Regions from separate parts of the Homo sapiens genome. Here regions 2, 3, 4, 5, 6 and 7 are each linked to region 1. Evidence: promoter capture Hi-C in 16 types of primary human blood cells and fetal thymus (Javierre and others, 2016). All regions are on one chromosome and are shown on one strand. The core of a region is centred on a gene start or on the middle of the fragment in contact, and the rest is flanking DNA. Distances in the headings are between cores, read along the strand shown. Region 1 holds the start of IL2RA (interleukin 2 receptor subunit alpha). Region 2 overlaps PRKCQ (protein kinase C theta). Region 3 overlaps PRKCQ (protein kinase C theta). Region 4 overlaps PRKCQ (protein kinase C theta). Region 5 overlaps PRKCQ (protein kinase C theta). Region 6 has its middle 74 kb from the start of LINC02656. Region 7 overlaps TASOR2 (transcription activation suppressor family member 2).

Region 1 (4,210 bases), core at 1,060-3,559:
GCACTTATACCTATGTAACCAACCTGCACGTTCTACACATGTATCCTGGAACTTAAATTAAAAACAAAAAAGAGTTTTTAATCCAAAAAAGATTAACAGCAACTAGAAGAAAGAAAGAGATATAAACAGTGAATTGCAATGCAGCACGGCAGGTGTTATGATGGAGTAGAAAGGACTGGAAAAGGCCTCCTGGAGGAAGGGACACTCAAGTGTCTTTCCATTTCACCTGTAAACTCATTAAGGGCAAAAGCTTTGCTACAGCTTCAGTATGAGATCCTGGGCAATCCGTGACAAAATGGGTCTGCTTTTGCACCCCCAACTTCTTCTCACATCCCTGCATCGTGCCATGCAGCATCAACTGGAAACCTCAGCATCAGCAAACGACGACAGAGCGTTCATCCGTAAGGTGAACCAGAAAAGCCAGTTCAATGACTTGTTTAACCATGGTCCATCTCAGAACCAAGAGTTGGGCCTCTTATTTACCAGAAAAATTGTGGGGGCTTTGTGATATGGCTTTAAAAAAATCTTGTAATTGCCAGGCGTGGTGGCTCACACCTGTAATCCCAGCACTTTGGGAGGCCGAGGTGGGTGAATCGCCTAAGGTCAGGAGTTCGAGACCAGCCTGACCAACATGGTGAAACTCCGTCTCTACTAAAAATACAAAAACTAGCTGGATGTGGTGACGCGTGCCTGTAATCCTAGCTACTCAGGAGGCTGACGCAGGAGAATCACTTGAACCTGGGAGGCAGAGGTTGCAGTGAGCCAAGATTGTGCCATTGCGCTCCAAAAAAAAAAAAAAAAAGACATTAACATAAATTTAAATATTTTATAATGACAATCCACATTAACTACTTAAAGCATAAGCTATTTTCCAGGAGAGGCAGCAAGTGCATTCTACTCCCATGCCCAAGAAGAAAGGAGCGTGACTTTGGTGGGAGTACTAGGAGTTTCTACTGGAGCACTTGCCCGCAGAGTGAGAAACGTTCCTAGAGAGGAAGTTATACCTGCTGTGGAATTTAAGAGAATCTTGTCATATTTTGACAAGTTTTTTGAGATGGAAGTCTCACTCTGTCGCCCAGGCTGGAGTGCAGTGGCGCAATCTCAGCTCACTGCAGCCTGCACCTCCTCGGTTCCAGCTATTCTCTTGTCTCAGCCTCCTGAGTAACTGGGATTACAGGCGCCCGCCACTACGCCTGGCTAATTTTTGTATTTTTAGTAGAAATGGGGTTTTACCATGTTGGCCAGACTGGTCTCAAACTCCCGACCTCAGGTGATCTGCCTGCCTCAGCCTCCCAAAGTGCTGGAATTACAGGCGTGTGCCACTGCGCCTGGCTAATTTTTTTTTTTTTTTTTTTTTTTTTTTTTTTTTAGTAGAGACGGTGGTTTCACCATGTCATCCAGGCTGGTCTCAAACTCCTGACCTCAGGTGATCCACCCACCTTGGTCTACCAAAGTGCTCGGATTACAGGCATGAGCCACCAGGCCCAGTCAACGTGATGTGTTTTGGAACCCTGAATTCCTTGGCTTGCCCGGAGGGTTTTCTTTTTGTTAATATCTTTGCTTGCTTTCTAGTATTTAAAAAATTGTGTTTTGCTCTAACTATGCAATGGCTTTAAGTCTTAGACAAATTTCCAGGGAGCAAAACACACTCAACCATTTCATAATAATCAGAAGAGAGCTCTGATCAATAAATAAGCAAGACTGAATTTTACAAAATAATCCAAAGTTTAAAACCAAAGCCCACTTTTTGCATGATCCTTTAAGAGAAAGAAATCTGGAAGCAAAACACCTTATAAAATGACAATGCACTTTCAGGAGCCCAGGGCACTGTGGTGAAATGATGATGGCTAGTACAGGTTATAAGCCTTGGGGAATTATTTATGAATTCTCAGGATCCTTCAGTTCGCCGCATCCTTCTCCATTATTTGAATATTGGAGGCTGCCTGACCAGAATCTTGTCAGGACTTTGCTCCTTCATCCCAGGTGGTCCCGGCTGACTCCTGAGGACGTTACAGCCCTGAGGGGAGGACTCAGCTTATGAAGTGCTGGGTGAGACCACTGCCAAGAAGTGCTTGCTCACCCTACCTTCAACGGCAGGGGAATCTCCCTCTCCTTTTATGGGCGTAGCTGAAGAAAGGATTCATAAATGAAGTTCAATCCTTCTCATCAACCCCAGCCCACACCTCCAGCAATTGAACTTGAAAAAAAAAACCTGGTTTGAAAAATTACCGCAAACTATATTGTCATCAAAAAAAAAAAAAAAAAAAAACACTTCCTATATTTGAGATGAGAGAAGAGAGTGCTAGGCAGTTTCCTGGCTGAACACGCCAGCCCAATACTTAAAGAGAGCAACTCCTGACTCCGATAGAGACTGGATGGACCCACAAGGGTGACAGCCCAGGCGGACCGATCTTCCCATCCCACATCCTCCGGCGCGATGCCAAAAAGAGGCTGACGGCAACTGGGCCTTCTGCAGAGAAAGACCTCCGCTTCACTGCCCCGGCTGGTCCCAAGGGTCAGGAAGATGGATTCATACCTGCTGATGTGGGGACTGCTCACGTTCATCATGGTGCCTGGCTGCCAGGCAGGTAAGGGCCTGTGGGTGCCCCCGGAATTCCGGGAAGGCTGATGGGCATCCCTCTTCCCAGCCACAGAACCAGAGGGAGTCCCCAGGTAGATGGTTCCAAGAAGGGAGTTGAATCTTGGGTTCCACCTCTTGCCTGTGACCCACGGGGACCCCAGTTTATGCCTCACTGTTCCTTGGTCTGTCAAGAGAGCCTGAAATAGCATTAGGTTCTCCTGTCCTTCTCAGTCCTTGACAATTAATTCTGGGAAGAATAGTGTGGCATGATATTTGGGATATTTGGATGTTAACAGGGTCCCGATGAGCAGGTTTCTCAAGAAATTATCTTTTATTCTTCAATGAATTTCCTTTTATTCTCTGCACTCCCACCCCCCAACTAAGAAGCTATCAGGAAGCTCTTTAAGTTCAGGTTAATTTGCTGGAGACATGAGTACTCATATATCAAACACTGGGAGAATTTAAGATCTCAGAAAAGTTTAGCTTCAAGGATGTATACACTGCTTTTACGTCTTAGGAAATAACACCTAGGAATTTCCTTACAAGTGCAACTTTACAGAAATTTTTAAAAATATGCATACTCACTTTTAGAACATTACTACTTCTCATAATCCTATGTATATACATGATATGTATATGTATACGTGTTTATATATGCAAATTTTAAATTTCATTCCTTGTTTCAAATGGATTTTCTCGAAGATTTTTTTTTTTTGACACTGTCTCTGTCAGCCAGACTGGAGTGCAGTGGCGCGATATTGGCTTACTGCAACCTTCGCCTCCCAGGCTTAGCGATCCTCCCACCTCAGCCTCCTGAGTAGCTGGGACTACAGGCATACGCCACCACACCTGGTTAATTTATTTTTTTGTAGAGATGGGGTTTTTGCCATGTTGCCCAAGCTGGTCTTGAACTCCTGGGCTCAAGTGATCCACTCACCCTGGCCTCCCATACTGCTGGTACTACAGGCATGAACCACCGTGCCTGGCCAATATTTTTTTTTAAAGAAATAAAAAACCACCAACTTCTACCTCAAACCACTCTTCCTAATTGAGTGTGAATTTTCTAATAATGTCTTCCCTTTGCTTACTCAGGAAGACAGATAAGAAAGTTTATAGTGTTTTTTGAAAGTCTATAATGGCAACAAGTAGAATGCTAACTGGCTGTAGAAAGAATTTATTAAGAAATGAAACATAATGATGCATTTCAGGAGTCTGCTTGCTTGTTTAGGGGAAGTGCCCAGTCATGCTGGGCTGTGTACTGGCCCAGATGTAGGAGTGTCTTTAAAGAGGGCATTTTATTTACTTATTACATTTTTATTTATTTTTTTTTTACTTTTTGAGACAGAGTCTCACTCTGTTGCCCAGGCTGGAGTGCAGTGGCGTGATCTCAGTCCACTGCAACCTCCACCTCATGGGCTCAAGTAATTCTCGTGCCTCAGACTCCTGAGTAGCTAGGTTTACAGGTGCGTGCACCACCACGACCAGCTAATTTTTGTATTTTTAGTAGAGATGGGGTTTCACCATATTGGTCAGGCTGGTCTCAAACTCCTGACCTTGTGGTCCACCAGCCATGGCCTCCCAAAGTGCTGGGATTACAGGTGTGAGCCATCGCGCCTGACCTATGTGTTT
Region 2 (4,210 bases), core at 782-3,281, 500 kb before region 1:
ATGAATAAAGTAAAACTCAACCATTAGCAACTTCCCATAGCTAGAGCTCGCAGAGGAAAATGTTAACACATAGCATCATGTTTGAATTTTATTATTTTCATAGAGAAGAAAACCAGCAAGCAAACCCCTTCTCTTGAGAGAACAGCCTTGAAGTACTCAGAACAGAGAGCATATGTATCTATTGAAATAAAATAAAGTCACTTTTCTCCAGGAAAATACTATAGATATTTTCTCATGGAAAAAATAGACTAGACCTATGGGTCTAAATATGTAAACATAAAGAGAGATCACACTATTTATTCAAGTACTGTGCTATCTCAAGACACCCAGCCATGCTGCTAAGAAGGCGCATTATAAAGAAGCATCAAACATTCTGCAGTTTCAAAAAGTGAAACGTATATTTGCTTGAATGTTCATCTAAACACTACCCATAGGAAAATTCAAACGAAACTCCAGGGAATTTTAATCCACATGCCACATTTTCTTAGTCTTTTGCAAGATAGAGTCAGAGGATTACATTTTCTGAAAACCGCTTTTTAAAAAGCTTAAGCCCTAATCAGTTAAGTGTGACAAAGGCTTGAAATGGGATTTGGTAGCAAGTAATTAAGGATGAAGTACAAGTGGGTATATATTGACAGTGGACCCATGCTATTGTCCTGAAATTGTCAGCGGGGAGTTTATTCTTTATTTGACATTGTTTATTTGACCCAGAGCATTGCTTTGAAGATATCAATTGCTATGGAACAAACTGCTCCCAAACTTAGTGGCTTAAAAAAACAGCACCATTGTATTTGTTCTTGATTCTGTGGGCTAGGGATTTGGGTCAGCCTTGGCTTGGCGGTTTTGGTCTTCAGAGCATCCCTAGGGCCCTCTCATAAGGTTGCAGTCAGACCTGAGATGAGGTCACTCCCTTATATGGCCCCTGGGTGGATGCAGCTAGGAGGTTGAGATTCCCCCACCCCGTCTTCCTCCATATGTGGCCCCAAAGTAGGAAGTTCCTGCTGCTTTGGTCTTTGGGTGAAAAACAGGTCACGGGCCAGGCAAGATCAAGGAGGGGCAGCAGAGGGCACTTCTGGGCGAGCAGTACAGTGGCATCGCAGAAGGACAGGTGGGAGGGAAAGGGATAGGCTGCAGCAGCTGCCTTTGAAAACGCCATCGAGCAATAGTATTGCAGCCATTTATACCATAATATTTCCTACAGAGGACCTCGTTTAGTTTCCGAGATTGAGCCTCTAGTCTCGCTCTTCACACCGCTGAAGATGTGCGGTAGAGGATCTTGCTGAAACGAAAATGATTGCTGCACTCCCCTGCAAAGCTCTTTGGTTACTCCATATCACCTGCAAAATAGAATCCCGAATCTTTGCGGGGCCCGTGAGTTCTTCCCAGCCTGTGCCCTGCCTGCCAGACTCAGGTTTCCCTTGGGTCCTTGAGCACCTCGTAGCTCCCCAGAAGCCTCTTGCATTTTACAGCTCTGCACCTGATCCCAGGCCTGAGTGCACTTCCTCACGCTCACATCGTTACTTTGCTAACCCCTGAGACCTCACCTCCTCTGCAAAGGCCCCCACGGGCTGTGTCAAGGTGTCCCTCCTCTGCGTGCCCTGGCATGCTGTGCACATGGACAGCTCAGCAGCACTAACACACCCTTCCTCCCTCCCCAACTGCACTGTGAGCTCCCAAGGGCAGGCTCTGCATCTCTTTGTCTGTCTAGCCCCTAGCCCTCGGCTTGAGCAGAGAGTCCCACACATAGCAAGTGCTCAGTAAATTTTGGTGGAATGTCAGCTCAGTATAGGTAAATGACAGAGTGGAGGAGTGTCGGAGGGAAAAGACCAGAAAACCCTGTACAGGAAGAAGGCGGTGTGATCCCATGGAGAGTTGGAGCCTGGGGAGGCAGGAAGAGGAGGAACAAAGCGGTGGGCTTAGACTGCAATTGGAGGCTGAGAGCACTCTAGGTAGTCAAGAGACGCGAACAAGCATAGAAAGTAAAGCAGAAAATCTGATTCGATGTAAGAGAAATCGAGGCATGTGTCATGGTGAGGGGCTTATAGGGAAGAGGCAGTGACAAGGTAGGAGAGATGGCCCAACATCAGGACGGGCCATGGAGACCTGTCCCCATGGGGAGAGCCCTGACCTGGACTCAGAAGGCAGGGCACCCAGAATCCCACCCACGCACCTCCAGACATGCAGTAGAGCTCAGTCATAGTAGGCATGCAGTAGACCTCCCTGTCACCGAGAAGAGGAGGAGAGGCACTGGGCAAAGTGAGGTTGCTGCTTCCGGGACTCTTGGAACTGTGAGACTTACGCTCTGAAATCCTAGCTGTCACTTACTTCACTTTCGACTGAATATCTTCACTCTTGAGCCAAAGTGATTGCATGCCTTTAAAGTGAAACTGTGCGCTGGGATCTAGTTGACAAGGGACAGGGGCTATTGTTTTGTTGGGGGAGGGGAGGTGGCAGCTGAGAGCCAACCAAGGAAGCCCACCTTGAAAGAATCCATAGCCTTTTTTCAACAAAAAAACTAAAAAGTAATCACTACAGAAAATATTTTAGTGCTAAATCTTGGAAGAAAACATGATGAGTGTTCTTTTGACTCTGAGTATATAATAATTATAGCTAACATAGACTGAGCTTTTTCTGTCTACTAGTAACTGTTCTAATCACTTTGCATCCATTAACCCATTTAATCCTATTATGATCCTCATTTTTCAGATAAGAAAAGTGAGGTTAAATAGCTTGTTTAAAGCCACAGAGCTACCATACAGCAGAACTGGAATTTGAACTCAAGCAGTTTGATGCCATGATCTGTGTTCTTAATACTCCATGTAGCAAAGCCTGATTTTGGGACTATACCTTATCTACTGACTTATGTTTAAAAATACTACCTGACATTGGAGTTAATTCTGAGAAGTGGGTTTTGAGACTTCCTTCTCCCTTTATATCTCAATTACTGTTTGGGGCTATTTCCTTGTTTTGCTGTCCAATGTATTACTTATGTTAGTAATGGAGAGAACACTCACTCTGGTTGAGCATAATCATCAAGCCGGGAGCTCTGCTAAGATCCAGTCGGCTTGGCTGGGTTCTTCTCCAGGCATTCTCTGCTGGGCCCTGAAGCGTGCGTCTCTCTGCTGAAGCATGTGAACATTCCTCCTGGTGTTTAGAGAGATTTGGAAAAGGCTGAAAAACCGCATGGAACTCCGGAAGTTGTTGTCTTTTCAGGGAAAACTTGTGAGGGAGACAGGAGATGGCCACAGTGGTTTTCTTTGGGGTCCAGCACTGACCGGGGCATTTATGAGGCTGCCCTGCAGGAGAACCACACAGATGAGTTCATAGACAAGCCTGAGTGGGCTTCTCCTTCGTTCTTCCTTACCCACGAGCGTCCACCTCAATCCCTCTCTCTTTCCTTTCCGGTATCTCCAGATGCCAGGTCCGTGGCTCAATGTATTTCCTTCCTACCAGCATTATTTTGAACTGACAATGTTGTAAATTTTAAACTATATTTTAAGTAAACCTTAAAAGCTTATTTTAGAATCCTAATCTGCTTTTTCAGACTTTTATTCACCTCAGATCTCCAACTCCCTTTACTTTTTGCTTGAACTCTCCTCCCTTCTTCCTGCTTTCCTCAACTCTTTCATGCTGTGTTTAATAACATGCTAAACACATTAAAAACAGCAAGTTCTATCATATCAACATACATGCCCACACCCACACACATACGTACTGACGACTGTCACTTGCAAAGAGCTGTTAAGAAGAAAGTTTGTTTAATTAAAAACCAGCGAGAATGGTGGCCAGATTAACATTCTTGAGTCATAACTTGGAGGTTTGAACTTCAACTTTATGGAGCCGTTCTGAGAATTTAAAAAAGTAATCTATTCTGTCATACTGTGAGATCTACATAAATTATTTTTTGGCATAGGCCTTTGTAACTTTTTAATTGACTTTTGAGTCAGTGTGTTTCTGTGTATGTAAATCAATTGTAGGTTCACGTCAAATTTCTGATTGTCTCAGATATGTATTGTTTAGTAATATTTGACAGGGTCCTGAAGCACAAGATTCCAAAAAGTTCAAAAAGATACCCTTATTCAAGGAAACATTTCTTTTTTTCTTGTTTCTTTTTTTTTTTTTTTTTTTTTTTTTTTGAGACAGGGTCTCACTCTGGTGGTCCAGGCTGGAGTACAGCACAATCTCAGCTCAATGTAGGCTGCACCTCCCA
Region 3 (4,210 bases), core at 901-3,400, 470 kb before region 1:
GACCCAGCTCTTTCTTTCTGCACTTTCTTTCTCTTCCCCCGGTGCCCTTCCCTAGTCCACCCTGTCCCTCTATTTGCAACAACCCCCCCTGTGACTGTGATAGCCCAGTCCCCCGTTGCCGGGCAGAGCCGGCACATGCGGGCTTCCGTAGAGTATTCTCTATAAAACTGTTAGCTCACTGCGGACTGAGCACTGCTGCTTCCGCTTGCTGTATTGATACTACCAAATACTGTATTTTCTTTGAAAAGTGTCACACGCCCGCGGGAGGAAGTGGGGTGTGGTGTCACAGCAGCATAGGAGGACAGGAGTGTTTTTGCTACTGGTGTACCCAAGGGCGACAGCTCACTTTGCCATTTCTTGCTCTGACTCTGACGCCAAGTTCATGGGAACCAGCCATGTCTCTATTCATGGGATCAAAGGTTAAGAAAGTGGAGCCCAGGCTCTCGAAGGCTCCTTCTCTGACCGCGCCCTAGGAAGGAGAGGTTTGCCCCATACCTACCCCATGATGTGTTGAGAACATGACCCTGTCCCATATGCATATCCAGTGCAGTGCTTTGCAATATAGTAGGCAGATATTCCAAATGCTTCGTGACTAACAGCAAAAAACAAATGTGTGTGTCACTTCATCCCCTTGGCAAGTGGTTCAGAGGTGTTCTGGGCCATGTCTGATGACCCATGAAACAAGTTCCTATGGTATTTTCATGAGGGAGAATTTCTAAGGATGTTTTAGAAAAGTGTGGTGTGATCATCGTAGCCATCTTTTCCACCAAACACTGTCATACGCATTTTCCATGGATTAATTCATTAAATCATCACAACACAGACATAGACCCAATCCTTCATAGACCCTGATGAAGTGGGTCCATTATATACCTTGTTTTGCAGATATGATAATGTAGTCACAGAAAGATTAAGTCACTTGTCCAAGACTGTACAGCTTGGAAACTGATAGAGCTGGCCTATACTCCATGACACCAACATTTACAAACTGCAAGCTCCTTCACATGTTAACTCCTTCCTGGGTCTCTGTGCCTTTTTGAACTCGGCCATGCAAAGGTTCGAGAATGGCAAAGCCTCATGCCCAGGGGCTTCAGATCCCCTTCTCAGTCTAGGTACCCTTTGACCAGAGCACCTGAGTCCCTGGCCCCAACTTGACGCCCCTGTTTTGGGTGGTGTGCTCTTCCTCACTGAGCACCTACATGACAGGAAGAAATGTCAGGAGGACTGCAAGGGATCCAGCATCTCAGTTAGAGCTGCTGGGTCACAAGATGGTAGAGTCAGAGAGAAGGTTGTCTTTTCAGAGTAAATTTTGACACAAGAAGCAGAGTCCTACATTTCCATTTACTCCTACAGAAGGCAGCATCTTTGTGTCTAGTAAGTGATTATCCTAACCATGGTTAGAAAATGATGCCAGGGAGGCTGAGTTCCTCCCAACTTTATCTGATGAAGTTAGCTTCTTTCTAGACTTTGTCCATAGAAATCCTCATTGATCCCAATCAGCCACTTCTAAAGGCATGAATGGCAGAAGCTTGGAGGGAATTGCACAGGCTTATGACATGCTGAGAAAATTACCCAGATAGGCACAGGCGCCCTGACATCCAGAAGAGAACTTAGGGTATTCCGAGAAACTCCATCTCTGTTTATATCACCCAATTCTTCATTCTTCAAACCACAGCCATGGAGTAGAAAGAAAGATCATTAAGCCCCAGGTACAAGGAGAAACATCCTAATAGTGCTTAAGATAATTAAGCAAGTTGCCAGGAAAGCCTGTCCCTACAGTCATAACATGTCCTTTGCAAGTAGGGACAGGTGGGAGCAGACAGAAACAGTCTACAGCGAAAACTCTATGCATTCATGTCCTCCCTGACCTAACCTTCAAAGACATTTGCTAACAAGAAATAACGTATTAGTTTGGGTGGAGACACTTAGCCACCAAAGCTGGGTTCAGGTGCTGTTGCTTACTCACTGTGAGTCCTTTGCACAGTTTTGTGGGTTGTGGGAGATCCAACACATAAGCCCTCTTGGCTATGCTTGTGCTTAGAACAAACGGAGAGGCAGATCAGGAGACAGGGAGATGGAGAAGCATGTCCACCAGTTATAACAAAGGCCAGATCGATGGAGATGGCTAAAACGTTCAGGCAAATAAGTTGGTCGTCTGTTCACAGCGTCCCAGGCGATGCTGGACTGTGTCAGGGACCCTCTCACCCCTGCCAACCGAGGAGGATGCGCCCCCACCCCACCCCAGCCTATGACATGGCCAAGGATAGTGCAGAAATGGTTCTGCAGATCAGCAGATCCTGCAACATGAGAAGAGGAGGGTGGAGATGGGTGGGAACGGTTTATTCATGTAGAACATGTTAACCAAAAAATGAGTGACTGAGGCAAGTTTCTCTATCAGTTGAGGTTTATTGAGCTAAAGTTTGAGGACACACCCGGGAAAAACACCAGCCCCAGAAGCACCTGTGACCTGTGCTTTCCAAAGAGGGTTTTAGGAACTCAGTGCTTAAGGAGAGGGGGCAAGCAGGAGGGAAGAGGGAGGAGGGAGGCAGTGAGGCTCTAATTAGCGCTTACCAAATCCATGTCTTACATAAGATAAGGTAAATGTGTGAGAACAGGGAGCAGAGGAACAAATCCATTATGCACCTGCCTCAGAGTCAGGAGAAGAGTGACTGATCTCAGCTGGCCCTTCTTCTGTACCTGGGAAGATGAGCTTGAAATCAACATTGTCAGTTGAGTTCCTAAAACAGAACTCAGTTTTAGAAGTTAAGCTTAGGTTGCAGTCCTAGGGTTGCAATCGGCATAGGCTTGTTTTGTAGGGGAATGTGGATCCTGAAGGATTTAGGGGCCAGAAAGGAATTTCCTCGTAAGCAGTGTGTGACGGTGGCCATCTGGGAGAAGCTCGGGGCCTTTTGTCATTGTGGGAGCCTGGCTTACGTAGAATGCTGTGACACAGGGTTGTGAAGTGACCGCTGTCTCCTGGGGAAAAAGAATGGCACGGTGGCAGGACTTGGCTTCCAGGCTTACCTCTCCCCTTGGCATAACTGGTTTGGGGGGCCTGAGATTTTATTTTCTTTTACAAACGTATCCATCAGATCAATCACTCTTCTTCCTGGGGTACAGGGATGAGGAGTGAGGATAGGTTAGAGGGATGCAAGCCTCTCTGTTTGAAAACACAGGGAGGGAAAATATGAGCCTTCTCATAATGACCATGATTAGCAACTGCTCGGTAAGTGATGGGTGCTGTTGTCCTCATAACCAACATCATCATCATTACAGTTTTTATATCTTTTACTGACTGCTGTTTTCTAGATATGGAAATTATATGACATAGACCTCAAATATCTAGTCCCATGATTCCCAATAAGTACCCACTTGCCCAAGAAGTTTCAGTACCTGGCTGCTGAAAATACAACTTTTACATCCTTAGTTCATGTGTCTTAATTCTTGATTCAGAAAAGCTATCAACTGTATTCTCCATATCTCAAAGTTAACGTGTCCAAAATAAAATGTCTCATCTTCTCATGCCATCTAGTTCTTCCCGCAGTGCTCCCATCTTGTGAATGGGGATGGCCTCCTACCATGGGTTGGGGCCCCAAACCTTGAGGCCGCCCTGCTCCTCCTTTTCCCTCCCCTCATCTTCAGTGGCTTGGTACATCCCATCAAGAGATATCGGAATCCCTGCACGCTGCCAGGGTCCTTCTGCTGGTGCCCTCCGACCATCAACTGGAAGAGTGAAGTCGCCCCCAGTAGTCTCTCTTCTTCTGCACTTGCTCCTTACAGTCCTCTCAACACAGGGACCAGGGTACCCCCTTTCTAGGTGTAAATAAGTCTGCTCTGCACTCAAAGCTGAAGACAGCACGTAGACCCCTCGGGCGGTGTCCTACCTGAACTCCAAGTTCTCACCATGGCCTGTGGACAGCCCCATGGGCACACCCACCTCGTCTGTCTTCTCTACCCCTTGCTCAACTCCACGCAGCCCATCCGCCTTCCCAGAACGTGCTTGGCAGCTCCGACCTCACACCCATGTTTCGGCCGGGAACGTTCACCTGCCATTGTCTGTGTGACTCAGTCCTCTCCTCGTGCAGGTCTTTACTCAACGTCATTTCACAGAGACCCTTCAGGACCAGCAAAGCCCTCCCTGCCGCCCCACCCAGCACTCCCCACCTCCCTCCTCTGCTTAGTTTGTTTCATGGGAGTCACCTGGTGTATT
Region 4 (4,210 bases), core at 1,036-3,535, 440 kb before region 1:
CAGATGCTCATTTAACCAACTAGCACATTTTTTGCACTTTTAAGCTTTGGTGGGTTTTTTTGTTTTCTTTTTTATTTTTTTGCCAAGGTTATTTCTTAATTTACTTTTATTTTAAGAGCCAACAGGTTGTTGGGACTTATATTTTCCCTTGCTTCTATTGGAATCTGCTTTTCCAACACTAATTTCTCTAAAGAAAATGATTCTCTCAAATTTGCCTTTCATGTTTCTCAACGCCGTATTGAGAGACACCTTTTGTTTTCCCAAGGTTGTGACTGTTTTCATGGTTGTCTCCCATTCACTCCCCAAAATGTGCTGGAATGTGGCTTTCTATGGGTGCTGTTTTTCCAGTAGCTAATTGGTTTAATTTCTTCCATCACTACTAAGTACTGAATACTGCCAACCTTGTGGTCACCTGGTGCCAATTTTCATTATTCCATTTGGAAGCAGGCCCCTTACCATAGCTCTTCCATCTCCATTTTTGCCTCCATCTTTACTCCTTATTCACAAGCCAGAGAACAATGGTGCATACATGCCATGTCAAAAGCACTTTTCTTTTCATTAATCTGTTGAAACTCATATGAAAATTTATAGTTGTTGCAGCAATGCAAGCTTATTTTATCATAAAATTCTCATGGCAGTAATGCTGTGACATAGGCATTGCTATTATGTCTGTTTTTCAGAGATTTCCCAAGACTTAGTGACTTGCACAAGGTCACATAACCAGAAAATTATTTAGCCACGATTCAGATTCAATCCTGAGTTCCACAGGACATTACTTGCTATTTCTTAGTTACTCCGGCTCACGTGGATAACCCATGGACATAATGACCAATAATGACCTTCAAGTCATCTTCTTTCTTATTCTTTTTGGTCTGTTAATGGCATAGTGGGATGGTTTAATAGATTAACAACAGCGCTCAGCTTGTCTTGAACTTGGATTTGTCCTTTCTTCTCCTTATGTCACTTTATGGGAGATCCTACATCATCCCTTAAAATGACACTTTGTTCCGCCCTCTTCTACATAATAATACAGTACTGAAGTATGTATTTATATACATTTATAAATTCCTTCCCAGATCAGTGTAATTAGAATTTTCTTTAGTGGACCATCCAAGACTTTCCTAAAAATACAATCTCTCTTTGTGAAAGAGAAAAGCCATCCCCATTGAATGCCCTGATTAACCTAGACATGCATCCCAGGTAGAAAAGAAGACAGGGGCCTGGAGGCGGCCTCAAAGAGGCAGGATTTATCTTTCCCTCCAAAAGAAGAGCTTTTTCCCCAAGGAAGCCAGTCCCAGTGCCTGTGATTCTTTTGTCATGATGAAGATCTGGGTCTGCCCTGTGACAGTCCTTCAGATACGCAGCATTACAGGGCAAGAAAACCAAATAGAATCTGTTTTAGGATTTTATTTCTTCCTTATGTAAGTTTTTCTCTCCAAATAAAATTAATGAATTGCTGGGATGTTTTAAGAAAAGAAAGGCGATTGTCACGGTTGCTACAGTCGTCTGATGACAATGAGTTTGAGTACAGTGGAGAGTAACAATGATTGTATTCTGTGGTGGAAATCTCCTGCCATCGTCAGTAGCCAGTGATGTCATTGAACTCAGGGCTTGTTTCACATTCTGACTGATGTTTCTCTCCTTCTCCCAACCAGTTAGAGCTGAAACCTCAAGGCCGAATGCTAATGAATGCAAGATACTTTCTGGAAATGAGTGGCAAGTGACATTTCTTCTTCCTGTTTGGGGGTGAGGAGGGCATGGCCTTCTCCTCAAATGCAGCTTATTTTACCTTTGCAATTATTGTAGAAGAGAATCAGGAGAAAAGAGAGGCACAAAATTGTTTTAAAATTCTCAGAGGTGCTCAGGCATGACTTTAAAAGACACTATCTGGGCCGGAAAAACGTAGAAATATAAAACATTTATAGCACTTGTTTTAAGTGATGTGAATCCATATGCCCAAAGCTCTTATACTCTGTCTTTAGTTTAGTTTGGGAATTCAGTCTAAATACAAAAGACTGTTGATGTGTGGTTATGTGTGTACACATTGTCTATGGTTAAATGATGTGCTCTAAGAAGCTACCATATTATCAGTAGAATACAAAATAAGTAAGAAGTCAATCAATATATTCCATAAAATTAGTAACAAAATGCTAACACTTGAAGTTAGTCACCTCAAGTCCTTTTAGGAACAAGAAAAGGTGAGAAAACACATTGCTAAAGGGTTTTGATTCCATGTTACATGTGGACTTTGGCCACAGAAGTGAAATTTCCCGGTACGATGTGCTGAGACAGGCTGTCAGGGCTGTGTATGTGAATCAAATCCCCCTACTTAGAAAATCCTAAGTCACAGCATGGACATGTAAACTTACTGATGGTAAATTCACTTCATTTTTTCCTAAATTAATTTTACTACCAAGAAGAAGCAAGTTTAACTTTATACATTTATGGTGCTTTCTGAGTTTCGGCTTACCATATATAATTCCTCCGTGTCTAAATTCAAACAAATACATCAGAGAAAACAATATTATGAAATAATCATAGAAAACTTGAACACTCACTAGATATTTGATGATATTGAGGCATGGTGAATTCATCTTTTAGGTGTGATAATAATATTGCGGTTATGTTTCTTTAAAAGGCACACTGATCTTTTACATATATATGCTGAAATATTTTAGTAAAAGGCGAAAGATTTATTCGATCTGAAGAAAAACCAGTGAATAGCTGAAATATTTTAGATAAAATAATATGATACCATAGTTTTGCTTCAAAATAATCCAATGGTATGGGGTGTAGGATGGACAGGGTGTATTGAAAGAGAGTGGCCATCAGTTAATAATTGCTGAAACTGAATGATTGATATATGAAAATTGATTATAGTATTTGCTCAACTTTTAGGTATATTTGAAATTTTCCATAATAAAATTTTTTTAAAAGAAAGAAAGAATTACTGAGATGGGAAAAATGTACTCTGAAATTTTATTTATTTTTCCTCTTGGAAGGTGTAGATATACAGTACACATAGTACAACTTTTGAGTTGGCTGAAATAGAGTGATTGCAGGATATCCGAATAACCAGATTTGCATAAAATGTGAAAGTGCTGACCTAAATAATAGTATCAATGATGTTTAATTCCTTGAATAAGAGAAATACATTCCTCCCATTAGTTTAAATCATGACCCAATGTAAATTGAAAAAGGGTCTTGTCTGGGCATGGTGGCTCATGCCTGTAATTCCAGTACTTTGGGAGGCCGAGGTGGGCAGATCACTTGAGCTCAGGAGTTCCAGACCAGGCTAGGCAACATGGCAAAACCCATTCTCTACCAAAAATACAAAAATTAGCCAGAGTTGGTGGTGCGTGCCTGTAGTCCCAGCTACTTGTGAGGCTGAGGTGGGAGGATCGCTTAAGCCCAGGTTATTGAGGTTGCAGTGAGCAGTGATTTCACCAGTGCACTGCAGTGTGGATGATACAGTGAAAGAAAGAAAGGAAAGAAAGGAAAGGAAAGGAAGGAAGGGAGGGAAGGAAGGAAGGAAGGGAGAGAGAGAGAGGGTGAGAGAGAGGAAGGAAGGAAGGAAGGGGAAGGGAAGGAGAAAGAAAGAAAGAAGAAAAGAAAGAAAAAGAAAGAAAGAAAAGGAAGGAAGGAAGGAGGAGGGAGGGAGGGAAGGAAGGAAGGAAGGAGAAAAAGGGTCCTTCAAAAGAAAGAAAGAAGGAAGGAAGAAAGGAAGGAAGGAAAGAAAGAAAGAAAGGAGAAAAAGTGTCCTTCATCAGAATGCAAGTATTTTTGGTAAATGATTTTAAGATCCCTGCTTTGAAAAACAATTCCATGGATGGTCCTTCTATTCCTGTGGAACTTAAATATTTTATTAGAATGAGAGAGCAAATTCAATCGGGCAAAAACAATGATATTCCGTAAACAATAATGACATAAGCCTAGGAAATGTTTTAAGAATAAAGCTTTGGCCGGGCACGGTGGCTCACGCCTGTAATCCCAGCACTTTGGGAGGCCGAGGCAGGTGGATCCGAGGTCAGGAGACCGAGACCATCCTGGCTAACATGGTGGAACCCCGTCTCTACTAAAAATACAAAAAATTAGCCGGGTATGGCAGTGTGTGCCTGTAGTCCCAGCTACTCGGGAGGCTGAGGCAGGAGAATGGCATGAACCCGGGAGGCGGAGCTTGCAGTGAGCCAAGATTGCACCACTGCACTCC
Region 5 (4,210 bases), core at 600-3,099, 410 kb before region 1:
CATCTCTAATTTTTTGTTCTGATTTAAATAACACTAAAATGAACATCCTCGAAGATTAGTTTTCATGCACATGCATTATGATTCTTCTTACTGGTTTGTCTCCTCTCTGCCACCCCATCCCGGCTGTCCACCACCCGCACTAATTAGCAGCCTCAAGTGGGACCATATGACTAAGGGCCAAAGAACACAAGGGGCGGAGGCTTTTCCATTTTCTGTTTTCTTTCTTTTTGTTTGTTTGTTTTGTTTGTTTGTTTTGAGACGGAGTCTCACTCTGTCGCCCAGGCTGGAGTGCAATGGTGTGATCTCAGCTCACTGCAACCTCCGCCTCCCGGGTTCAAGTGATTCTCCTGCCTCAGCCTCCTGAGTAGCTGGGATTACAGGTGTGCACCACCACACTCAGCTAATTTTTGTATTTTTAGTAGAGACAGGGTTTCACCATGTTGGCCAGGCTGGTCTCAAACTCCTGACCTCAGGTGATCCACCCCCCTCAGCCTCCCAAAGTGCTAGGATTACAGGCGTGAGCCAACGCACCCAGCCCTTTTCCCATTTTCTATCTCAAGCCATGACGACTGGAGAGTGAATGAGGGAAAACTTCTAAGGAGACTTGAGCCATGGGAAGAATTAATGAGGGAACCAGGGAATGAATGAGGAAAGTGGATGGCAACTGGGGCATCCATCACCACCTCTGCAGTTCCCAGTAGATTCTCAGCATATGTGCAATAACCAAATCAATGAATAAATGCACTTACCTAAGATAAAGAGAAGCCAGACCATGGCAAAGCACTTACTGAGCATATGCTGTGCTCAAAGCACTGTGGAGGATACAGAAGTATATAATACAGCTCCCGACCTTGAGAACTTCACACTCTAATAAGAGTCAAGGCTGCATTTCTAACAGTATGAGTAATATTAGATCAGAAGGCAGACACAAAGTACCAGAGCTGAGAGAAACTAGAAAGAGGAATTTGAATGGGCAGAAAGGGCCTTGGGCATGAAAGGTGTGGCTGCAGGAGAGGAAGTAGAAAAGAGTGAGGTGTCCTGGTCAACTATTTAGGAGAATGCAGGCCCGCTTCCTGCTGCAGGGAGCAGGCTGGAACTTCCCATGATGAAGGCTAGAAGAGATTTTGTACTAGAAACTCCCTCCTGGAGATGATAAATACCCATTGGCCTGGGAGGGTGAAGGTATGTCACCTGCAGGCAAAGGGACAAACTCTGCCACCCTCTCCATGCTGTTGGGAGGGTGAAGGTATGTCACCTGCAGGCAAGGAGACAAACTCTGCCACCCTCTCCGTACTGTTGTCTAGATTTTCTGCACATGCTGGGGCTCCCTGTAATCTTTTCCCTTTGCAGTATTTTGAGGCTTGTAGCAAACTGCTAAACACATTTTTTCTTTTTTGCCATAAATAAAGATTTTTACTGTAAAGCTTTCATAGTAGCGAAAAATTGGAAACAACACAAATACCCAATGACAGATTTATTGAATAAATTATTATATGGTCAGAGAAAATAATACTATATAACCATTTTAAATGATGATGTAAATGCTTAAACATCAATACAGAATGTTGTTTATGAAATCATAAGTGAGAATATATAGTATTTCCTTTTAAGCAAGAACATTTGCATGTATAAGCATGAAAAATAATGAAAAACTAACAGTTGTTAATTGGGAGGTAGGATTATAACTGATTTTATTTTTATTATATCTTTCTGTGTATGTTACTATAAACACATTTTAGACTGGGCTTCTGGGCACTTAGGCAGTTGTGCTTCTCTTGGTGCCTTTTCCCCATTTTTTTTTTTTTTTTTGATTTGCATGTATGACAGTTTTCATGTCTTACGGGGAAGGCTATTGGGAATCCCACTTTGTAGAAGATAGGTATGCTCCTTTCTCTTGCCTGTCCATCACAGCTTCAGGCAGCATTTGTTTCTGTCCCTCTTATGAGAGATCTCCTTAACCCATTTATGCCTGAGGTTGCAACTTTTTGAATTTTGAAATCAGACCTTGGTGATGACCTTGAGCAGTAGGATATAAATAACTCCCACATGCTTAGCGTTCCAATAATGGAACACTAGGCATAAATGAGTTCCGTGCAGCTGGGATGCTTTACCAAGACCTGAGCCACAAGTGCATCCACAGCATTGGTGCTGGGAGAGAAAAAAAAACTTCAGCAGAGAATGTTTACATGAAATGTAAATCTGACTGGCTCAAGACTCAGATCTCAAGGAACTGAGTCCTTTTAGAAAGAGGAAAGAAACAAAGGAAGAAGCTTGAATCACCTTTTCCAACACCCCGAGTTGTTGTTTTTGAGATGTCTTAATTATTCAAACCTTGCTTGTCAAAGTAACTGATTAAATACCACAAGTGAATGCAAAAGGCAACGATTGATACGTGATATGGATAATGCTTTGTTCTGGGAACATGTTGGGAATGACCTTTCTTGGGAGGACAGTTACCTGTGTATGCTAGTGTAGACATCAGATAAGATAAATTAACTATGTACTTCTCCAGGGCATTGTTATTTTTTAAAGGAAGTTATTCATCTGCTCTCTGCCTCCAAAGAGCGCACCTGTTGAATACCAGATTATTCAGGAGATTCTGAGGACAGGTATTCACTTGTTATTAATTAGGGTCATTTGGATTAAATTGTTAAAGTTTTTAAAGTTCCTAGATGAGGGATATATCACCTATGGAAGGGTGAAAATATGATAAAGCCATTTAGGAAGCTACAAAATGTGAAAATTCCTGTGGACTTGGATTCCGAAGTTCAAGCCCAGCTCTGCCGTTTATCAACAGGGCTCTGAGGCACCCACTTTACCCCTGCCCAGGACAGAGAGTAAGAGTTACAGGCAGAGGGGCTGGGAGCTGTAAAACCAGGGGCCCTAATGGGACGGCACCGTCTGGGGACATAGATGTACAGGATAATTCATGAAATCTGAACCTGAATCTGAATGAGGCTCAAATCAAAAGAATCTTCACAATGAATTTTCTGTGTGCTAGATCAAAATGACTTTGTACATCATCCAGGCTCTGGCATAAATTACTGGCTCAGGGTCTAACGTAGATCAGCATTCTGAGAGGCTGCTGTCTTGGCAAGAGGAAAGAAGGGCTAGCTCTTCTTTCTTTTACTTTTTTTCTAACATTTCTTTGTTGTTAATATTTACATTTTCTGTCTTACAAAGTCTGCAGGGCTTGAAATTGCACGATCCCTTCTCAGTACCCCCTTCAGTGCGGATGCCAGCCAACTTTTGCACTACTAGATTTCCAACTTAGATTTTTAACAGTTTCCATTACTTACATTTTAAAAAGTAAAAAAATAGGAAAATCCACAATAAAATTTGTCTACAAGAAGAGTTGTCATAAATCTTTTAACTATCCACTTACAAGTAGATTTAAAACAATTAGAAAAAAATAATTAACCATAAAACTTTGAAACACAGGGAAAAATAAACACTGAAACAGTTTCCCTCTTTTTAGTTATGCTGCAGTAAAAGAAAGATTAATAACTCAAGTATCCAAAGTTTCTGTGTTCTATCTCTGATAAAACTGTGGAAAAATAAGAGGATTTATTTCTAAAATTTGTTTGGAAAGGAAAGATGCATCTAACACAGTAAGGATGCTATTTCTTTTTAATTTCAAGGAAATAATTTTCCCTTAAAAATTAAAAGTGAACTAAAGTCTACCTTCCTCTGTGTCTCCTTTGAATTCTGAAAGGCCGATCTGTATTCTGACATTTAAGTAGTGTTACTATTTCACACCTAAGTAGCTCTAGATCCTATAGGAACAGCTCTGTCTCTGGGTCGTTCCCTCAGGTTGGATTTGAGGGCAGGCCGCCGTGGTTTTGCAGGCCTCTGAAGAGAGGCCTCCCAGGGTGATGCCAAGAGGCAGAACGCTAGTGTTCCTGGATTCACATCACTGCCCTTGACTCCCACACTCCCAATATGCACCAGTTGAACATTCTTGGTCAATATCACTTTGAAATTTTTCTTTTATGAAAAAGAAAACTGAGTTTCACTTTCTATTCATAGAACACACAAAGCTCTACTTCCGGTTATGGCTTCAGGGCATGAGTGTGTGAGTTACTTTGAACAAGTCACCTAACATTTCTTTGTGACACTGGTTCTCCTTTTTTGCTTCCTAAGGATAACGTGAAAAATAATAATAATAACAATAATAGCACTTGCAGAGAAGTTTGGATCTTTTTTGGAG
Region 6 (4,210 bases), core at 1,271-3,770, 360 kb before region 1:
GTGAGAAGGCGACACTTGTCCTCCCCTTGCTCCAAATGAAAATGCTCACACATGTTTACCAAATTCACCTGCTTGAAGGAGGGAGAGGGTCCTTTAAGGCCCTGGATGGGCCAGTGGAGGGCAGGGAGCCGCCCGTTCTGTTCTGATCTCTGCTCTGCTTTGCATTTGCTGTGAAGCCCTGAACAAGTCATTTCATCTTTTGGGGCCTCCAAGTAATGGAGGTGAAGATGCTGTCTAAAGTCCCGTCTCACTAGAGTGATGGGGTCGGTGAAGACGCTATCTAAAGTCCCTTCTCACTAGAGCAATGGGGTTGGTGAAGACGCTATCTAAAGTCCTCACTAGAGCGCTTTCTGGTTCTAAATCTGAATCAAAATCCTGCAAAGTTAAAAGGTCAGTGAGCAACACTTTCCAAAACACAGACACTCGTGGATTCCACTCGCTGCAGGCCTGGGGGCAGCTCTACCCCATTTTCCTTCCAGTCGTCCTCTCCTCACTCTGGGTTCCCACATACCCCTGCCCCAGCACCCAGCATCCTCCTGACACCCAGAGACCCCAACAGGACCCCTACCAGGAGACAAATAAGTGAAGACTGTTGGCTCTTAGAAACAGGAACCAACGCAACTTTTATCCCCTCCACTAGACCAAAATAAGGTCTATTCATCATTTGGTTTTGTTTGTTTTATTTTTTATTTTTTTGAATTAGAGACAGAGTCTCCCTATGTTTCCTAGGCTGGTCTTGAACTCCTGGACTCAAATGATCCCCCTGCCTCACTCTACCAAAGTGCTGGGATTACAGGCCTCATCATTTGTTTTTAATAAATGTCATCTGTATGAATATGTCAGGTGACTAACAAGCTTACTATTTGCTTCGTATTTCTGAGTGTGCGAAGTACTTGTTACTTCCTTCTATTCTTTCAGGTGTCCTCTGAAATTGCTTATTAATATCCCTATTTAATAGGTGAGAGACCTGGCCAGGTGCGGTGGTTCACGCCTGTAATCCCAGCACTTTGGGAGACCCAGGCAGGCAGATCATGAGGTCAGGAGTTTGAGACCAGCCTGACCAACATGGTGAAACCCCGTCTACTAAAAATACAAAAAATTAGCTGAGCATGGTGGCACGCGTCTGTAATCCCAGCTACTCAGGAGGCTGAGGCAGGAGAATCGCTTGAACTCGGGAGGCGGAGGTCGCAGTGAGCTGAGATCGCGCTACTGCACTCCAGCCTGGGCGACAGAGCAAGACTCTGTTTCAAAAAAAAAAAAAAAAATAGAGGAGAGACCTGAGGCCCAGGGAGACCATAAAGCTTACACTAGAGGGTTGACCAGTGGAGACTTGAACCCAGAACTCTTAGCATCAGATCTTGCTTCATTCCAGAGTGCAGGGTTTCAGCGACATCCACCAATCAGCATCTGATGATTGTTCACTAAAGTTTTAAGTGGACTTCCTAATTCAGGGCCACACCTGGCTTACCTGTCCCCCTTCTAGGGGACGCAGTGCGGGGGCCAGTCTCTTCGATGCCGGTCCTCTCATCACCACTCCCAGTTCCCCTCCACTTTGCACTTTAGCCTAGACTCAACCTTGCCAATAGAAATGAGAACTTTACCTCAGGGTATAGTTAAAGGTTTTGGAAAAAGAGAGATCAGTGCTTCTTTTTGGAAGATACAGACTGAGAGTTTGGCTGAGAGCTCCCTGTGCACGAGAGGCTGGCCACAGAGAGAGCATTGACCAGGATTTTCTCAGATCCCGTCCAGCAAGACCATGCTTAGGAGAGAGGAAGAAGTCGTAAATCAGCCAGAGAAGAAGAAATGCCTTTGTTACATCATAAAACTGCAGGCAGGGGTCTGAGCTCTCAGAGCCTCTGTCTCCAATGGACCCATCAATGATGGCCAACAGAGGAAGCATCAGCCTTAAACACCCACAGACCGGGAACATCCCAGAACCCACTCACAACAATGCAAACCAAGGAAGACTTCTCCTGCCACCTCTCTCCTTTCTCTGTCCTTTCCCAACTTCGGGGAAGAAGGAGCAGAAACCATGGTCATCGGACTGCGGAAGGAGAGGACTGAGCATGGGCGGGTGAGAAGTATGAAGACGCTGACCACGTGCCTTCCCCACCACAAGCCACCAGCACTGCCCTCTCGAGCTAGATGAGAGGACAGGGTCAACTTTAAATCGGTTTTCAATTATTCATGGCATTGCACATGTAAGTTACAGAAATGAATCTTGAGGGAGCAACTGAAGGACATGTCTAATGTCACCGGAAAGGTCATGGGACCTCTGAGATTTCAGCCAAAGTTTGGAAGAATGAGCCCCACAGAGCAGGTCTGAATGGATGGTGGGCGCAAATAATAAAGGTGTTGGTTTGGTTTGGTTTTGCCCCGAGAATTTTGCTTGTTTACACACAGACAAGCCCTAGAGTGACAGTGATGTTGCTCTTGGTGCCACAGCTACACAGGAGATTTCTTGCACGTAGGGACCACGCTCTTTACCACCGAGCCTACCACCCTGGCAGACACTCCTCCATCACGTGCATTTGTTGAGTGAGTGGGTGAATAGGATGTGGGTGAGCACGTCTCTACAATCCTCTGTCTGTGTGGGGCCTGGCACACGAGAATGCCTGGTGGAAATTACTTCGTCCTACAGGCACTACAGGATTAACTGGACTTAGGTATCAGGTCCTCTCTCCTGAAGAATTTTAGACAGAGGCAAAAACCAGATGGCCAAGAGAAGAGGCATTTGGTAAAGACCACAAGGCAGCCAAAGGGATGGGCAGCAGAAGCCAGGAGGTAGGGTCGGTCACAGTAGCAGAGACACAGGGTCGTCCTGCCACCGCAGTGTGGGTGACTCAAGGAGGGCTAAGACTAGCAACTTCCAGTAAGTTGCTCTCACTTCCCGGAGTTACTGAGGGGTCCCCAAGGTGCTGGGAGTCTTGCAGGCAGCCCTCCAGTCAGTCCTGTGTTATTCCTCTCTCTGACTCAGGGAACCATCCTGATGGGCAGCAGCCCCCAGCCGACGGCAGGCCGGGGAATGAAGCCACTGGCTGCTCTCCTTCCCTCAATGCCGTCTGCTCAGTCTCCTGGAGGGTCAGTGATGAGGGAAGGAGCCCCAACTTCCTTGTTTCTCCCTGCGTCCTAAATAAGTCCGGAACCCAAAGAGACTGAGTGTGTCCCTGGGGCATGCGTGTGCCTGTGTGTGTATATCAGAGCAAGACACCACACTGCCGTGAGCACCAGGCTGGCTGACTCATTGTTCCCTACATGCCTGATGTCTGCTCCTGCTCTAGGGCTTTTGCTCATTCTCTCCTACCAGGCTGAAAGGGCCAACACATCTCATAAACAACCCCAAAGCCAACCCACCCCAGGCCTGGCTGCAGCATCAGCCTCCTGCCTTTGCTGACCACACCAGCTGTTGCTGTCCAGAGATGCCTCCCACCTCTATTTGTCCTCTGAAATAAGCATAGTGAAGAGCTGGGCCAAACTCCCAGAGCCCAGAGATATTTGGAAATGGAGTAGGCGCCACCCAAGTTTGTTTCTGTACAGCACCCAACTCACTGTCTGAGAAGGACCCTCAGAGGTTGGCAGCAACTCCCACCAGGGGGTCATCTGAGAGGCACAGTGACCACAGTGATCAATGATGTCTCACCATGAGGACAGGAAGGAAATGCCCAGCCAGGGAACATGTTTTCTGCCCCCAGCTTCTGCCTTCCATGTCGTTTCTTCACTCTACTGCGGATGAAGCTTTGACTATAAAATATGCTGTTGGAATGCACCAACTGCCCTACTCCCAGGTGGCAGAAGGAGAGCTCAGTTTTCCTTCTGGAAAATTCTTGCAATTACCAGGTACTGGGTGAAGTGCTTTGTGTATATTACCTCATTTAACCCCTGACGACAATCTCTGAGGACAGCATCATTGTCTCCATTTTATCAACAAGGACACTGAGGTTTGGAAAGATTACACATCTTTCCCAGAATCATAGAAGAAGAGCTGGAACTAGATCCCAAGCCTGTTTGATGACAAAGCTTGTCCCTCTATCACCATAAGGGGAGGGACAGCAAGTGGGTTATGGAGTCAGGATGCCCGGGTCACACCCAGCCTCACCCCCGATGTGGTGTATAACCTTGGACAAGTCACTTAAACACTCAGCCTCAGTCTCCTCCTTTCTAAAATGAGGACCAAAAAATAAAGACAAAAAATAAAATAAAATAAGGACAA
Region 7 (4,210 bases), core at 1,151-3,650, 350 kb after region 1:
CTAATGATTATTTTAAAAAATATAGGTACTGGAAATCATAATTTTTTAAAGTCTTTTTGTTTTACATGATCTAAATTAAAACTAAAAACATTTTAATCATTCTATTCTGGATTCATTAGTTATGACTTATAGCACTTAGTTTAATACCCACTCTTTTCTGATAGGGACCCTGTCTCGATCTTCTCTAAGAGAGAATGTAGCTGGGAGGGTGGTCTTAATTCATTTTCACCAAGTATACCCTCAGAATTCTTGACATAGTCCTGTTCTCTGTTAATGTCATAAATGCTAAAATGAAGAAAGAAAAAAAATCATAAAGTGAACAATTCTATTTATAGCATATTTACTATAGAAACAAATGTTCGCTGAGTAATTTGTATTAGGAATAATTATGTAATATTTATTTACCTCCTTTGACAAGTATTCTCAGCTAAGGACTTAATTTGTTCTATAAGCTATAACACATAATCTGAAATGTTTTTCCTCCAAAAGTCTTTAACTTCTAAAGAAAATTTTGTACACAGAAATATATTATGCTTAATCGCTTTTGCCTTACTGAAAAAAAATCTTTCAAAATGAAGAGATCACAGAACCACATCTTTATTCCACTAGTTGAAAATAACGGAATCAAGCAGAACACAATTTACAAAAATCTCTCTCCTCCCCCAAATTAGTTGTATATATATTCATTAAACAAAACTATTAGTGGTGACTATTATGCATCCAATATCATGCTAAATCTTGGATTTATCAAGACAAATGGCAAACAGTCTCTATTACAGGGAAACAGGCTCTACATTAAAAAAGTTCAGATTAGGCTGGGCGAGGTGGCTCATGCCTGTAATCCCAGCACGCCGGGAAGCTAAGGCAGGCAGATTGTTTGAACTCAGGAGCTTGAGACCAGCCAGGGCAACAAAGTGAGACCCCACCTCTATAAAAAATACAAAAATTAGCCAGGCATGGTGGAGTGCACCTGTAGTCCCAGCTACTTTGGAGGCTGAGGTGGGACGATGGCTTGAGTCTGGGGGGAAGAAGTTGCAGTGAGCTGAGATTGCACCCCTGAACTCCAGCCTGGGTAACAGAGCCAGACCATGTCAGAAAGAGAGAAAGAGAGGAAAGGAAAGAAAGGAAGGAAAGGAAGGAAGGAAGAAAGGAAGGAAAGGAAGGAAGGAAGGAAGGAAGGGAGGAAGGGAGGGAGGGAGGGAGGGAGGAAGGAAGAGATAGAGAAAGAGAGAGAAAAGGAGAGAAAGAAAGAAAAAGAAAGAAAGAAAGAGAAAGAAAGGAAAGAAAGAGAAAGCAAGCAAGTTAGCTCAGAATAGACAAGGAAGAAAAATCTGCAAAGAAATTAGTACTATAAATGTGTAGGAGTATCTAAAACATGATATAGTGGATGTACAGTGATACAACCAATTTTATGGAGATGGAGCTATGTCAAGAAAGATTTCATGGAGGCACAGATACTTGAAATCTGGAAGATATTCCAATGAGGAAGCCAAAAAAGGAAACTAGTGTACATTTTCTAGATAGCAGAAATAGTATGAGCAAATGAACAGCGGTTTAAACATGATACATTAAAGGAACTGCAAATAGTTTAATATGACTGATTAAGGGAAGAAGGGAGAGAAGAATAAGAACGAAGAAAAAGATTACAAAGGTGGTCAAGTTTTCAGTTTTTATCATGAGTCTGTGGAATAAGGATTTTCATATGCTTCACAAAAACAGCATGTATAGTTTTACAGCACATTTTCCCCCCAAAAAGAACTGGAGGTAGAATTGTGTGGATACATTCAAAATTTTTTAGGAAAAGTAGCTATGTTGATAATAATTCATGAAGGAGGTTGTTTATGTAGGGGAAAATTAGGAATAGGGAGACCAGGGTTCTGGTCTACCTATTGAACTCACTAGGTGCTACCACTAATGTGTTTTGAGACAGTGGTTAAAGACACATTGGATTGACTTCCCAACAATCATGTCCCTTTTACTTCCCTTCCATAAAACCACAATTTTGTTCAGGTATCAGGTTATCCCATGGTTCAGAAGAAGTGTGTGTGTGTGTGTGTGTGTGTGTGTGTGTGTGTGTGTGTGTGTGTGAAAATGAGTGAGGGAGAGTGAGTATGTGTGTGTGTGGGGTTGGGGGGGGAGACAGAGAGAGAGAGAGAGAGAAAGAGAATGAGAATCTTAATTACTCTAAGATCATTATGGTAATTCCACTCCCTTTGAATAGTGTTTGTTTTAGGAATAAACATGTGACTCAGTTCTGGCCAGTGAGATATAAATGGAAGTCTACAGAGAGAGTTCTGGGAAACCTTTCTTAGAAAAGGACTCCATCTTCTAGCCTAGGATCTTGTCTGAAGATGTGTTGCCTGGATCTCCTTGCAACCAAGATGGCAGCCAACATAGAACGGAACAGAACAGAAAGAAACTAGATCCCTGAACTGATGAAATAAACTAACCTGGGGGCTGCCTCATCTTTGGGCTTTATACATGAAATAATAAATGTTCCTTATTGTTTAAACTTTTATTGGAAGCTGAAGACATACTAACTGATGGATTTTGTTAAATTTATACTCTCTAAGGCCTCCTTTAGTTATAATTGCCTTTCTAAAGCTCCTTTCAGTTGTGACTCTACAAGGAACTTTACTGAAGGCTTGCTGTGCATGAGGCATGGTGCACTGGCATCAGATAACTTAGCAAATTCCTTTTTTCTTTGCTGCCATGGATAGAGACGTTATCCTAGTATTTGTTAGCAAGGAAGCTATTGTTATTAATGATAACAATGGCTAACATTTGTTGGGTGCTTACTTTTTTTTTTTTGAGACGGAGTCTTGCTCCGTGGCCCAGGCTGGAGCGTAAGTGGCTTGATTCTGGTTCACTGCAACCTCCACCTCCCGGGTTCAAGCAACTCTCTTGCCTCGGCCTCCCGTGTAGCTGGGATTACAAGTGCCCAGCAACATGCCCGGCTAATTTTTGTATTTTTAGTAGAGATGGGATTTCACCATGTTAGCCAGGTTGGTCTCGAACTCCTGGCCTCAAGTGATCTGCATACCTCGGCCTCCCAAAGTGCTGGAATTACAGGCATGAGCCACCGTGCTAGGCCTAGGTTTCACTACTTAACTGTATGTATTAATCATTGCTGAGCCATACTGTGTAGTCAAGTTCTTTCCTTATACCGTGTTTTGCTTTTCTGAATTTAAAATAGCTTAATTTTCAGTTACCAATCATTATTTCAGCTTGAAATTCTAGAGAACTAACAATATCCTCTGGATAAAGATAGATCAAAGATTTTGTCTGTTTTGAGCAGCTTCTTTTCTTTTTTTTGGAAGGACCTTTCTGGAGCACTATGTCTTCCAGCTTCAATCTGGGCTTGTGCCCTCTGATATTACTGCCTGGCTTTCTAACTTTGCTGGGGGATGTTAAGACACAAAATTGATCTACAGATTCAACACAATCTCAGTTTGCAGAAACTGATGATCTGATTCTAAAATTTATATAAGAAAGATATAAGCCAAAACAATTTTGAAAAAGAACAAAGCTGAAGGACTCACTACCTGATTTTGAGAATTACTACAAAGCTAAAGTAGTCAAGACAAGGTGGTAATGATACAAAGAAAATGCATATAGATCAATGGAACAGAATAGAGTCCAGATAACAGATTTTCAATATTGCCAGTATAATTCCATTGAGAAAGAATATCTTTGCAATAAATGCTGCTACAGAACAACTAAAACGGAGGAAAAAAACATGAACCTCAAACCTCTACCTTAAACCATAAAATTTAACTCAAAATGAATCACAGACCTAAACATAAAAACTATAACTATTTGGCTAAAATTATAAAATTTAAAAAATCATAGGAAAAAATGTACTTGACTATGGGGTACATAAAGTTTTCATAGGGCACAAAATTAGTGACCTAGAAAAATGTATACATCAGACTTCCTAAAAATTAAAACCATCTGATCTTCCAAGGTATCATTATTAAGAAATGGGAAATATTTGTAAAGTACCTGTACCTAGAATATATAAAAAACTCATAGACACATTTCACAAAATAAAGCATATAATAAAAAGAAACATGGGAAATGGGTCAATATTATTAGTTATCAGGGAAGTGCTAATTAAAACCACAATAAAATACTACTGCTCCAGTAGAATGGCTAAAAAGACTGAAAATACCAAGCGTTGGCAAGGATGAGGAGCCTCTGGAACACT

What was found. The method cuts DNA at HindIII sites, captures the fragments that hold promoters and counts their contacts. A CHiCAGO score of 5 or more calls a contact.
Region 2: a fragment that was not itself captured here is called in contact with the fragment with the promoter of IL2RA in region 1 in 1 of 17 cell types (activated CD4 T cells); the score reaches 5.3 in activated CD4 T cells.
Region 3: a fragment that was not itself captured here is called in contact with the fragment with the promoter of IL2RA in region 1 in 1 of 17 cell types (activated CD4 T cells); the score reaches 5.5 in activated CD4 T cells.
Region 4: a contact is called between a fragment that was not itself captured here and the fragment with the promoter of IL2RA in region 1, in 1 of 17 cell types (activated CD4 T cells). The highest score is 5.5, in activated CD4 T cells.
Region 5: a fragment that was not itself captured here is called in contact with the fragment with the promoter of IL2RA in region 1 in 1 of 17 cell types (activated CD4 T cells); the score reaches 5.7 in activated CD4 T cells.
Region 6: a contact is called between a fragment that was not itself captured here and the fragment with the promoter of IL2RA in region 1, in 3 of 17 cell types (endothelial precursors, monocytes and neutrophils). The highest score is 5.3, in endothelial precursors.
Region 7: a contact is called between a fragment that was not itself captured here and the fragment with the promoter of IL2RA in region 1, in 1 of 17 cell types (total B cells). The highest score is 5.2, in total B cells.

The regions. Positions count from the first base shown.
Region 1 is chr10:6,060,466-6,064,675 of GRCh38, reverse strand. IL2RA (interleukin 2 receptor subunit alpha) reads left to right here and starts at 2,309. Exons shown (of 8, transcript NM_000417.3): 1 at 2,309-2,588. The coding sequence starts at 2,525. RefSeq lists a cis regulatory region at 1,926-2,556 and an enhancer at 2,549-2,598. The HindIII fragment of the contact is 7,385 bases long and covers 253-4,210 here.
Region 2 is chr10:6,561,296-6,565,505 of GRCh38, reverse strand. The region is part of intron 1 of PRKCQ (protein kinase C theta); the gene reads left to right. Among named protein-coding and RNA genes, the nearest start is that of PRKCQ, 17 kb to the left of the region's middle. The HindIII fragment of the contact is 2,969 bases long and covers 547-3,515 here.
Region 3 is chr10:6,526,427-6,530,636 of GRCh38, reverse strand. The region is part of intron 1 of PRKCQ (protein kinase C theta); the gene reads left to right. Among named protein-coding and RNA genes, the nearest start is that of PRKCQ, 52 kb to the left of the region's middle. The HindIII fragment of the contact is 1,240 bases long and covers 1,531-2,770 here.
Region 4 is chr10:6,504,942-6,509,151 of GRCh38, reverse strand. PRKCQ (protein kinase C theta) reads left to right here. Exons shown (of 18, transcript NM_006257.5): 4 at 1,656-1,716. Among named protein-coding and RNA genes, the nearest start is that of PRKCQ, 73 kb to the left of the region's middle. The HindIII fragment of the contact is 3,347 bases long and covers 612-3,958 here.
Region 5 is chr10:6,473,913-6,478,122 of GRCh38, reverse strand. All of the region lies in intron 12 of PRKCQ (protein kinase C theta), which reads left to right. Among named protein-coding and RNA genes, the nearest start is that of PRKCQ, 100 kb to the left of the region's middle. RefSeq lists an enhancer at 3,944-4,123. The HindIII fragment of the contact is 846 bases long and covers 1,427-2,272 here.
Region 6 is chr10:6,422,281-6,426,490 of GRCh38, reverse strand. It overlaps a transcript of PRKCQ not described here. Among named protein-coding and RNA genes, the nearest start is that of LINC02656, 74 kb to the right of the region's middle. The HindIII fragment of the contact is 2,434 bases long and covers 1,304-3,737 here.
Region 7 is chr10:5,705,605-5,709,814 of GRCh38, reverse strand. The region is part of intron 1 of TASOR2 (transcription activation suppressor family member 2); the gene reads right to left. Among named protein-coding and RNA genes, the nearest start is that of TASOR2, 23 kb to the right of the region's middle. The HindIII fragment of the contact is 5,278 bases long and covers 1-4,210 here.